2 separate regions of the Homo sapiens genome follow, and region 2 is linked to region 1. The links are contacts of gene promoters, found by promoter capture Hi-C in human tissues and cell types (Jung and others, 2019). All regions are on one chromosome and are shown on one strand. Each heading gives the region's core, a stretch centred on a gene start or on the middle of the fragment in contact. The rest is flanking DNA. Distances are from core to core; before and after follow the strand shown.

Evidence for each region. The method cuts DNA at HindIII sites, captures the fragments that hold promoters and counts their contacts. A contact is called where the count stands out against the background at its distance.
Region 2: a contact is called between a fragment that was not itself captured here and the fragment with the promoter of YES1 in region 1, in 1 of the 25 tissues and cell types used here (hippocampus).

Annotation. Positions count from the first base shown.
Region 1 is chr18:809,383-814,941 of GRCh38, reverse strand. YES1 (YES proto-oncogene 1, Src family tyrosine kinase) reads left to right here and starts at 2,700. Exons shown (of 12, transcript NM_005433.4): 1 at 2,700-2,828. RefSeq lists enhancers at 1,498-2,039, 2,040-2,582 and silencers at 2,314-2,823, 2,874-2,933, 3,004-3,093. The HindIII fragment of the contact is 17,179 bases long and covers 1-5,559 here.
Region 2 is chr18:516,657-522,215 of GRCh38, reverse strand. No RefSeq gene overlaps it. Among named protein-coding and RNA genes, the nearest start is that of LINC01925, 4.1 kb to the right of the region's middle. RefSeq lists an enhancer at 3,180-3,379. The HindIII fragment of the contact is 4,309 bases long and covers 561-4,869 here.

The DNA of each region.
Region 1 (5,559 bases), core at 1,451-3,950:
TCCTTAGAGAGGGGTTCTCATATTCTTCCTAACTGGGCATAGGAGCAGTCTTGGCCAGGTGGAGGCGGCAAAGCTAAGGTGGTGCAGACAATGTCAGGCACTGAATGGATTTGAGGAAGGTGGTGAGGGGATGGTTGTTAGAAAAGAGGCACCTTGTGTAGGGCTGCAGGCTTTTTTACTGTTACCAGGAAGAGAAAATCATCATAGCCTCAGTGGCGGAAGCAGCAGCAGCAGCATATCACTGATAGCACGTAGGAGAGGTTTACCCTAAACAAAAACATTTCCTGGTAGAATCACAGGTTCCAAGGTGGTACTGAGTGGGCCCTAGTTCAACTTTCAGCTTTTCAAACTTCCAGCCAAATAATTTTAAGCATTAATCAACTTACATAAATGAAAGCATTTTACTTTTATAGGGACCTAACATATCTCATAAAGTTTGTTTGTTTAAAGCTTTCCCCTAGCTTTTTCCTCCAGCAGACATTTCCAGGGGTTTCAAGACTTAAGTTCCTTATCACTCCCTAACACACATGTACATACCACACCTCTATGCTGTGCAGGAGGGAAAAGTAGGGGCAAGCTTATTTGTCCGTTTCAGGATGAACAGATTAAAAGCAATTTTTGTTACACCAAACTCAGTAAGACTTTCCAGTTTTCTCTTCCTCATTAAAAAATTTTTTAAAAAATATTCCTGGAAACAAGTGAGCCACTAAATGTAAGATTGAAAACTTTCCAGGTTATTTACAGACTGAAGTTTGACATTGATGAATATACTAAAAAAGAAATCAGGGAATGTAGTAATAAAAAAAAAAAGGGAGGGCGAAGAGAAGCAAACTCAGTAAGTCAATGTAATCCATAACTTGTAGGTGACATTCTGACATACTCTCCCAACTTTAAAACTCCATATAGAACATCTTCAAAGCCACCTTACCCCTTAAACTGGGGCAAACTACTATTTCATTTCATTATTATTTTTTAAAATATATTTTACTAAATAGATAGGAGGTCTCCCATGTTGCCCAGGCTGGTCTCCAACTCCTAGACTCAAGTGATCCTCCTGTCTTGGACTCCCAGAATGCTGGGGTTACACGTGTGAGCCACTGTGCCCGGCCTATTTTAGAGGTGATTTTTGAGACTGAGTGTTTAGGAAGACGAAATTATCTCTATTTAGTGAAGAAAGGCAACAGCTCAAGGAATTTTCTATTTTAATAAAAGCTGAATATAGACCTACATAAAATTTTAAAGCCCTGAGACAGTCAATGACAAATGAAGTTTTAGTAGCTAAGAAAATACAGCATCGTTCCACATTATGTGTCTCTTTAACGCCTACGCCTACCTTTCGTTCATTTAGTGAGCTGAAGAAAAAAATGTTCAAACCCTTATATGCATTTCCTTAAGTTCCTAGAATACCGGAATACTGACACATATGATTGCACTATTTCCTATCCGTCGAAGATGATTCTGAATTTCACTAAAAACCGCAAAGGAAACCAATAGTCACAAAATAATTCTGATAACCCCACCAAAGAGGAAATAAAGAGAGGAAGTTACTCTAAAAGTCTGATAGGGCAAAAGTGACTGCAGCAGAAGGGCCTCAAGGTTCAGTCCATGAGGACCTTGATTAACCTTCATCTTTACGCCCCCACCCCATCCTTCCGGGTCCTCCCCCTTCTTCAACGACTGGCTTTACAAGGCTCATAGGAAAGGTGCGTGTATTCAGACGGACACGATTCCAGCTGTGGCTCCTCCACTTTCAGGGTCGCTGTTTCCACAGTTGACAAGCAGGAGAACCATACTTGTTGCACTTCCCTCACTGGGCTGCCGCCAGCATCATATAGAAAAACGCTGTCCCAACATAAGCCAAAGCCACCATGACTGGGATAGTCGCCAAACAGAACTCAGCTTCGGTTCCCCTCCCGGCAAGGCTGGTTCGACCTACAGTCAACAGGAAGCTCCTGGGGGCAGGGACAGGATCCCTGCCTCGGAAGGAGGCAAGACGTGAACGTTTTTTGGACGGCGATCAGGATGGTGATGAGGGTGTGAGTAACGCCCCCGGCTCACGCGGTTGGGCTTGAGATTTTACTACCAACGACAAAGGGTGCGGAAGCGTAGCGCTGAGAAGCAAACAGCCAACCAAAAAAACTCAACCCCGTCCTCCCCCACAAAAGCAAGCCCCAAAGCCCTGGCCACTACTGAGAGCTGGGCCAAGGAACAGAGAAAGGCAGAGGGGCAGAATCGGAGCGCTCCATTCAATCTCCGCGGCAGCCGAGCGTCGGTGGGTTCGCGGGTGGGAAGGGACGCCGCGGGCCTGCTCTCCGGGCAGGGAAGCACCTCCTCCTCACGCCCCCTCGGCCTGCACCGCCCCCGGGAATCCGCCCCGGACCCCGCCGCCATGTTGGGTCGGGAGAAGTGACACGGACCGGTCGCCTATCCTGACCACAGCAAAGCGGCCCGGAGCCCGCGGAGGGGACCTGACGGGGGCGTAGGCGCCGGAAGGCTGGGGGCCCCGGAGCCGGGCCGGCGTGGCCCGAGTTCCGGTGAGCGGACGGCGGCGCGCGCAGGTACCCGCAGCCCCCGCCCCCGCTAGAAGTCAGGGGGCGGGGCCGGGGGGGGGGGGCGGAGGAGGTGGAGAGTGAGGCCGAGGCGTGGGGAGCCCGGGAACTCCCTCCTCCTGAAGTAACGCGTCCCGGGCCGGCTCTGCCGTCGTTGCTGCCGCCGGGCGCCCCGGGACGAGGAGGTGGAGGAGGGAGAGGGCCCGCGGGCCTCGCCTCCGCCCTCCGCCACCTCGAGCTGCGGTAGCAGCGACTCATGAGAGCGCGGCCGGAGGACAGGTAAGGACCCGGTGGGGCCCCGCGGGCGGAGGGTTCCACCTCTGCCCGGACAGGGCTAGGCCCCAGCGCCCGGAGCCGCCGCCGCCGCCGCCGCCGCGGTTCCCCGCCCCCGCGGGCCCGAGTCGGGAAGTTGGGAAGAAACTTCTCCCCTCCCCCGGATCGCCCGGCGGGCTTGTCTCGTTCCCCGCGCTACCTGCTCGCCCCTGACTCGGTCTCTGCCCTGTCCAGACCTGCCGGGTCCCGCCCAAGTCCGACCTGAGGTTCCAGGGGCGTGGGGACACTCCCCACCCCTTGTCTTTGGGGTCGTGTGGACCGCCCGGCGACGGGGAGGAGAGGTTTATTTTTGCCCCTACGGCCGAAGTAGGGGCGAGGGAAGCGGCCCCTTTGGGTCCTAAAGGCTGGGGGTCTGTGTATCGGCCGACGCCGGTAGCAGCTGTGCGGGGAGAGGAGCGGGTGTGTGGGGCGAGTGGATGAGCCTTTCTGGCTTTACTTGGTTTGATTGAAAACCGCAACATGTTTAAAGTTTTCCTTTGTTTTGGGTTGGGGGTTGGGAAATTTACCATTCAGCGTCCACTTTTACGGAATCATGCCACTCCGCCTCCCGTTGCGTTCGGTTCCCTGTCCACATGTGTTAAAGAAAATTGTCTTAAAGTGTGTTTTTCTTCTTGATAATTGCTTCCAGCTTTCACTTTATTGGGCATGGGGCAGAGCTGTTTTAAGAAGCTCTTTGAAAATCAAGTCTGGTGTAGGGACTTTAGTTTTTGTTTTGTAATGAGTAGGACTTAACAGTTCGGATTTGGTTGAATCATTTTCTGCATAATTAATTGATACAGGCGTGGAATAACATACTGTATAATTATAAATTACTAAAGGAAATAATGAAAGTCTTTGGTGGAAGCACAATTTTATGTCCATTTATTATGTATATACGTTCCACGGGTGTGTGTTTTCACAGTCGATTTCACATGATATGATTATAGTATCTTCATGTATTATAACTGTAAGATTACAGTGCCAAAGATACCTTGATAATTTTAAATATTTAAACCATCCTGTTACACTTCTAAAGTTAAATTACGCACTAAGGAAAGTATTACTAAATGTATACACGTGACTGTGCATTTAAGGAAAAGTGCATGGTAAATCTAATATCTTAACTATCACAGTGCTTGGCACACGGTGGACAGGAAGCATTTTGAATGGTCAGGTAATAAAGGAGTATCTTGTATTAGCCAAGGATCTTGTATGCATCACTTACGATGTTCATATATTGTACAGTAAGAAAGTTTTACTTTAGCAAATAATATATATGGTTTTTTGGTTTTTGTTTGTTTGCTTATAAGTGTGAGACCCCTGCCACAATTGACATGTAAGGAAAGGAAGTTAAATTGTATTTTTATTTTTGGACATTAGCTAAAAGTCGGTGGAGATTTTAAATGCTGGTTGACAATTCAGAGGGTCCTACATTTGAAAAAGACAATTGCCTTTGATCTGAAAACAAAACAGTTTATATCCATGTTTCCAGGATAAAAGATAAAAGGGCTCTTAAAATATATACTCTGTTGTAACCACTGTAATGTTATAATGGCTTTAATTTCGTAGTTAGGTTTTGCTGACTTCATAAACCACAAAATTGATTCCTTTCTGTTCATCTGAAAGTGAAATTACAGCTTTGACCTGTCTTCCTGGGTTAGGTGGAATTTGTCTTGTGGTCGAAGTATAATATTAATACATGGGCTGTTTTTGTGTGTGTGTTTTAGTTCAGGAAATTCACAAGCTGAAAAATTAATGTCTATGCAAGTAAAATTTCTTCATGGTATGTATTGATAAAAGAATAAATGTGCTAAAAGACTAGAAGTAAACCTGTATAAGTGAAATATTACCAACCGATGGTGTAAGACTTACTTATTCAAAGTTGAAATTTGCATCATGTTAGACAGTAAATGATTTACTACTATGGCTAGTTTTTCTTTACAAAATCAGTGTAGACATCGTTTATTCTATTAGCATTATAGTAAGAAAGAAGACTAATGCCAAAACAATTTTTTAAGTGATGCTAAGCGCTGGGGTCACCCAAACTTGGGTAATTAAAAAAAAAAAAAAACCTGCAAGGAAATTCTGTGAACGTAAAAATAGAAGCATAGAATACCTGTGGTTCTATGAAGGGAAATATATGGGAAGAGGGAGGAGATTGTGATAGGGACCTGGCTTCTGAAGTGGTGACAAAGTTCTTTTAACCTGGTAGGAGTTACCAAGGGTATTGGTCTTAGTGTAATTCATTAAGCCCTACGTTTGTGTGCAGAATCTGTTTCTATGTTTTATTTTACATGAATTTGTTGTTGTTTTTTTAAGGAATCCAGTGTGTAATGTCTATATAAGGTGCTTGGTTTAAGAACATAACTTGGTGGCTGACTTTCGAACACTACCTAGGCTATCCTTTGCAAATAGGATTAGATTTATTAAATCATAATTGTCATATACCAGCTGTATGTATAACTACTTTGAACACGTCAGGCTGGGCACGGTGGCTCACACCTGTAATCCCAGCACTTTAGGAGGCAGAGGGAAGGGGATCACTTGAGGCCAGCAGTTTGAGACCAGCCTGGCCAACGTGGTGAAACCCCATCTCTACTAAAAAGTACAAAAATTATCTGGGTGTGGTGGCGCGCCCCTGTAATCCCAGCTACCTGGGAGGCTGAGGCACGAGAATCGCTTGAACCCGGGAGACAGA
Region 2 (5,559 bases), core at 1,466-3,965, 290 kb after region 1:
GGTCAGGAGTTCGAGACCAACCTGGCCAACATGGTGAAACCCCGTCTCCACTAAAACTACAAAAATTACCCAGGCATGGTGGCATGCACTGGTAGTCTCAGCTACTTGGGATGCTGAGGCAGGAGAATGGCTTGAACCTGGAAGGTGGAGGTTGCAGTGAGCCAAGACTGCGTCACTACACTCCAGCCTGAGCAACAGAGCGAGACTCTGTCTCCAAAAACAAAAACAAAAACAAACAAACAAACAAACAAACAAACAAAAACAACAGAAGACCTAGTGGGAAAGATTTACCTGTGTTTCATTCAACCTAACAATACAACAAGCGTTCACTGGGTCATGCTGTATGTGAGATTTGGTGTTAGATATTGAAAAATAAGGCCGGGCATGGTGGCTCACGCCTGTAATCCCAGCACTTTGAGAGGCCGAGGCGGGTGGATCACGAGGTCAGGAGATTGAGACCATCCTGGCTAACACAGTGAAACCCCATCTCCACTAAGAATACAAACAATTAGCTGGGTGTGGTGGTGGGCGCCTGTAGTCCCAGCTACTCGGGAGGCTGAGGCAGGAGAATCGCTTGAACCCAGGAGGCAGAGCCTTGCAGTGAGCTGAGATTGCGCCACTGCTCTCCAGCCAGGGCGACAAAGTGAGACTCTGTCTCAAAAAAAAAAAAAAAATAAACAAACAAACAAACAAAAAGAAAAAGAAAAGGATATAAAAAGATAGGTTACAACCTAGTTGGGAAAAGAAAGGTATGCAGACACATGCCGTGTAGTGTGATATATTCTATCATCGAGGTGTAAAATCAGATTCTTCAGGCCAGGCACAGTGGCTCATTCCTGTAATCCCACCACTTTGGGAGGCTGAAGCGGGCAGATAGCTTGAGCCCAGGAATTCAAGACCAGCCTAGGCAGCATGGTGAAACCCTGTCTCTACAAAAAATGCAAAAAAAAAAAAAAAAAAAAAGCCAGGCATGGTGGTGAGCGCCTGTAGTCCAAGCTGCCAGGGAGCCTCAGGTACGAGGATTACCTGAGCCTGGGAGGTTGAGGCTGCAGTGATCTGTGATGGCACAACTGCACTCCAGCCTGGGCAACAGAGCAAGACCCTGTCTCAAAAAATAAATAAATAATAAGTAAATAAAACAAAAAAGCAAATGAAGGATGAGGGATCAGTCAATTGGAGGCAGTTCATGGAAATTATTTTCTGAATAGGTGGTTTCTGAGTCTTGAACATTTGCCAGATGAGCCATGGGCAGGGGAGGAATGGGGACTAGAGCCAGAAACAGGCTGATAGAGCTCGGAAATTGTCAATAGATTTGTTTTGTTAAAGCCAAGGGCAAGATAGCCAGAGTTGAGGCTGAGAGAGAATCAGGCCACAACCGTGCCTGTCCTTCCCTCTATGCCACACAAAGGGCTTTGGACTTTTTCTGTAGCTGAGAACTTTCAGGCTGTGGACTCATAGAATAAGATGTGCATGAACTTACTTCACAGATGGGATGAACACGTGCGTGGAGGGGAGTTGGTGGTCAAATGGGATGCAGATACATATGGAAGGTGAGAGAAAAGAATAAATGAGGATTCTGACTTCAGCAAATGAAAAGAGGATGGGAATATTAACCAGAATACAGAATCCAGAAAGTAGTGGTTTTATGGAAAGACATGATTAGAATTTCAGTTTTGTTTTGAGTATATGAAATTCAAGTGTTTGGTGAACCTGCAAGTAGAAATTCCAGGGGAATTCTGGTTGGAATAGCATTGTGAGTTCATGAGTTCATGCAATACACTCCCCCTTTCCACCTGAAACACACAACCTGACGGCGAAAATATACTCAGAAAAACTGAAAAGACATTTACATCTCAGAAGGAAAGTGACTCACGCCTGTAATCCCAGCACTTTGGGAGGCCAAGGTGGGTGGATCACGAGATCAGGAGATCGAGACCATCCTGGCTAACACGGTGAAACCCCGTCTCTACTAAAAATACAAACAATTAGCCGGGTGTGGTGGCGGGCGCCTGTAGTCCCAGCTACTCAGGAGGCTGAGGCAGGAGAATGGCGTGAACCCGGGAGGCGGAGCTTGCAGTGAGCCGAGATTGTGCCCCTGCACTCCAGCCTGGGCGACAGAGTGAGACTCTGTCTCAAAAGAAAAAAAGCAAGGTGAACAGAGCATTGGACTACATACAGAAGAGAAAGACAAGCAAGACTGAAGCTGTGACCTGCTGCGTCCAGGTGTGGAACTAGGTGGACATGGAGTTGGTGTCCTGTGGGGTGATGAGGACTAAAAGAACCCTAGGCAAGGCAGAAACTAAGCGAGCCAAGCTGACCCTTACTCCTGCATCAATGGAAACTGAGAAAAGCTTCAAGCTTCAACCACCTGCCACCTGGGCCTCCACCTATGTGAGCTTCATACCTAGAGAGAGAGAAAGATGCAAACACAGCTCACACCCAGTACTTGGGCCAACACACACTCTGGCTGGAGGACTATTCCCTCTATAACCGGCGATAGGACATGAAGAATCCACGTAAGACTTAGCTCTGGACACAAGGCCCAGGAGGCCTGCAGGAAGGTTTCTGAAATGTACTAACAGGCAGTGATAAGCACAGAGAAGAGGAAACAAACAAAAACTCTCACATTCAAAATAAACCTGCAAACCAAATATCTCCAAACATGAAGAAAACTAAATAAAGTATAAGGCATTAGTTGGCTATGGCCACAACAACGCTGTGTAACAAAATTCAGAAGCTTCAACTGTTATAACTGTTTACTCTCAGGAACATGGGGCTGCTGGCAGGCTGTCACTTCGCTGGGTTTGGCTGGACTCCAGGCTTTAGCACAGCCTCTGGGCTGTAGGCCCTAGGCCCCAGGTTGGCTTCAATTCTGGCCCATGGGTGTCTGTCTCATCCCTCTGGGACCAAATGCTACCAGGCCACGTGGTCTGCTTCACATTTCTCATTCGGGGGCCCAGGCTCTGGGGACAGCAGTTGTTCATATCCCCCTCGTGACAGATCATCAGAGAACAGGAGGGAGAGCCCAACAGCAAGGCATATTTCACGTCGCTCCAAATAGGCCTGTGAGACAGAAGAAAACCAAGCTGTTTCCTCCTCTCTACTCTCACACAGTGACTCAACACTTTTGACACCAGATATGTGGGGGATTTTCCTCACACACCAAGCAACCAATTCTTCAGCAGATTCTCCAGCGGACACTAGCTAGGTTTCCTCTAATTTAATTCAATTCTGACATTTTCTACCAAGATAGCAATAGATCCCACGGGTTGGGGACTCAGTCCCGCAGGACTGCCCCCAACTTCAGAAGCCAATCGCAAGCCCCAGACGTAGCCAGTGCTTCTGACCTATCAGCTATAAATCAGGGTTCCCGTGCCCTCTTCCTCAGGTTTTATTAATTTGCTAGAGCTGCTTACAGAACTCGGGGAAACACTTTACTCACACTTACCAGTTTATTGTAAAGAATAGGACAAGGCTACAGATGAACAACCAGATGCAAGAGATTCACAGGGCAAGGCACGTGAGTAGGAGCCCGGAGCTTCCATGCCCTCTCCAGGGCACTGCCCTGCAGGAACCTCCAAATGTTCAGCTATCTGGAACCTCCCCCATCACGCATCCCCAACCCACCCGCTTTTTGGGTTTTTATGGAGGCGTCATCACCTAGGCACAATTGCTTAAATCATTGGCCACTGGTGATCAACTTAACCTTCAGCCCCTCTCGCCTGCCCAGAGATTGGAAGTAGGGCTCAATGTCCCAACCCTGTAATCCTGTCTTGGTCTTTCTGGTGACCAGCCCCTATCCTGAAGCTACCCAGGGGCCCCCAGCCACCAGTCATCTCATTTGCATACAAAAGATACTCTTATCACTCCAGAGATTCCAGGGATTTTAGCAGCTGTATGCTAGGAAACAGGATGAAGACCAAATGTGTATTTCACAATATCATGATGGTCAAAGCAAGTAATATGGACAAGCCCAAAGCCGAGAAGCAGGAAATGACTCCACCCAGCATGAGGCCAAAATAAAGGTGTGAAAATATACAGTCACTTGGAGCTTAGTGAAGGGGGTATGCTTTAAGAAACGCATCCTTGGGCCAGGTTCTGTGGCTCACGCCTGTAATCCCAGCACTTTGGGAGGCCGAGGTGGGTGGATCATGAGGTCAGGAGATCGAGACCATCCTGGCTAACACGGTGAAACCCTGTCTCCACTAAAAAATACAAAAAAATTAGCCGGGCATGGTGGCGGGCGCCTGTAGTCCCAGCTACTCGGGAGGCTGAGGCAGGAGAATGGCGTGAACCCGGGAGGCGGAGCTTGCAGTGAGCCGAGATTGCGCCACTGCACTCCAGCCTGGGCGACAAAGCGAGACTCCTTCTCAAAAAAAAAAAAAGAGACACATCCTTAGGAGATTTTGTCATTGTGAGGTCATCATAGAGTGTACTTACACAATTCTAGATGGTATAGCCTACTACACACACAGGCTATATGGTATAGCTTATGGTTCCCAGGTTACAAACCTGAACAGCATGTTACTGTACCGAATACTGTAGGCAATTTTAACACAGTGGTATTTGTATCTAAATATATCTAAAGACAGAAAAAGTTAAAAATATATAGAAGTATATATTTTTATACTTTCATACAATATAAAAGATTTTTTTTTAAATGGTACACCTGAATAGGTTACTTAACATGAATAAAGCTTGCAGGACTGGAAGTGGCTCTGGGTGAGTCAGTGAGTGAGTGGTGAGTGAATGTGAAAGCCTAGGACATTACTACATATTCCTGTAGACTTTATAAATATTGTATGCTTAGGCTACACTAAATTTATTTAAAATTTTTGTCTTTCTTCATAATAATAAGTTAACCTTAGTTTACTATAACTTTTTATAAAACTTTTTAATTGTTTTTAACTTTTTGACTCTTGTAAATCACTTGGCTTAAAACATAAATCTTGTACAGCTGTACACAAATATTTTCTTTTTATATCTCTATTCTATAGGCCTTTTTATATTTTTAAATTTTTATTTTGTTTACTTTTTAAGCTTTTTTGTTAAAAACAAAGACATACACACAGTCACGCAATACTTTTGACACCAGCTGTCAAAAGTGTAGCCTAGACCTACACAGGGTCAGGATCATCAATATTGTCTTCCATCTCCACATCTTGTCCCACTGGAAGGTCTGATTCATATCGGACTTTTCTTCAGCAACAATACATGTCAGAAGCTAAATGTGTTGCGAGGTAATAACTGGCAACTTAAAATTCTATACTTTGATAAGTGGAGACAGCAAATATCTAGCTGTTTTGCTTCTCTAGTGGGAGGATACATCTGCCTCTCATCAATACTCCTGTGATGGGAAATTACCAAAACATAGTAGGGGGATTCAGATGGTGGACATGTAATAGAAGCGAACAGGGGTCTGCTTGCCTGGCGCAGTAAAACCAGATATTCACACTGAGGCTGTGCAGCGGTAGAAGGAAAGGCATTTATTTGCAGGGGCTCTAAGCAAGGAGGACCAAACAGCTAATCCTCAAATCCTGACATTCCTGATGGCTTGGA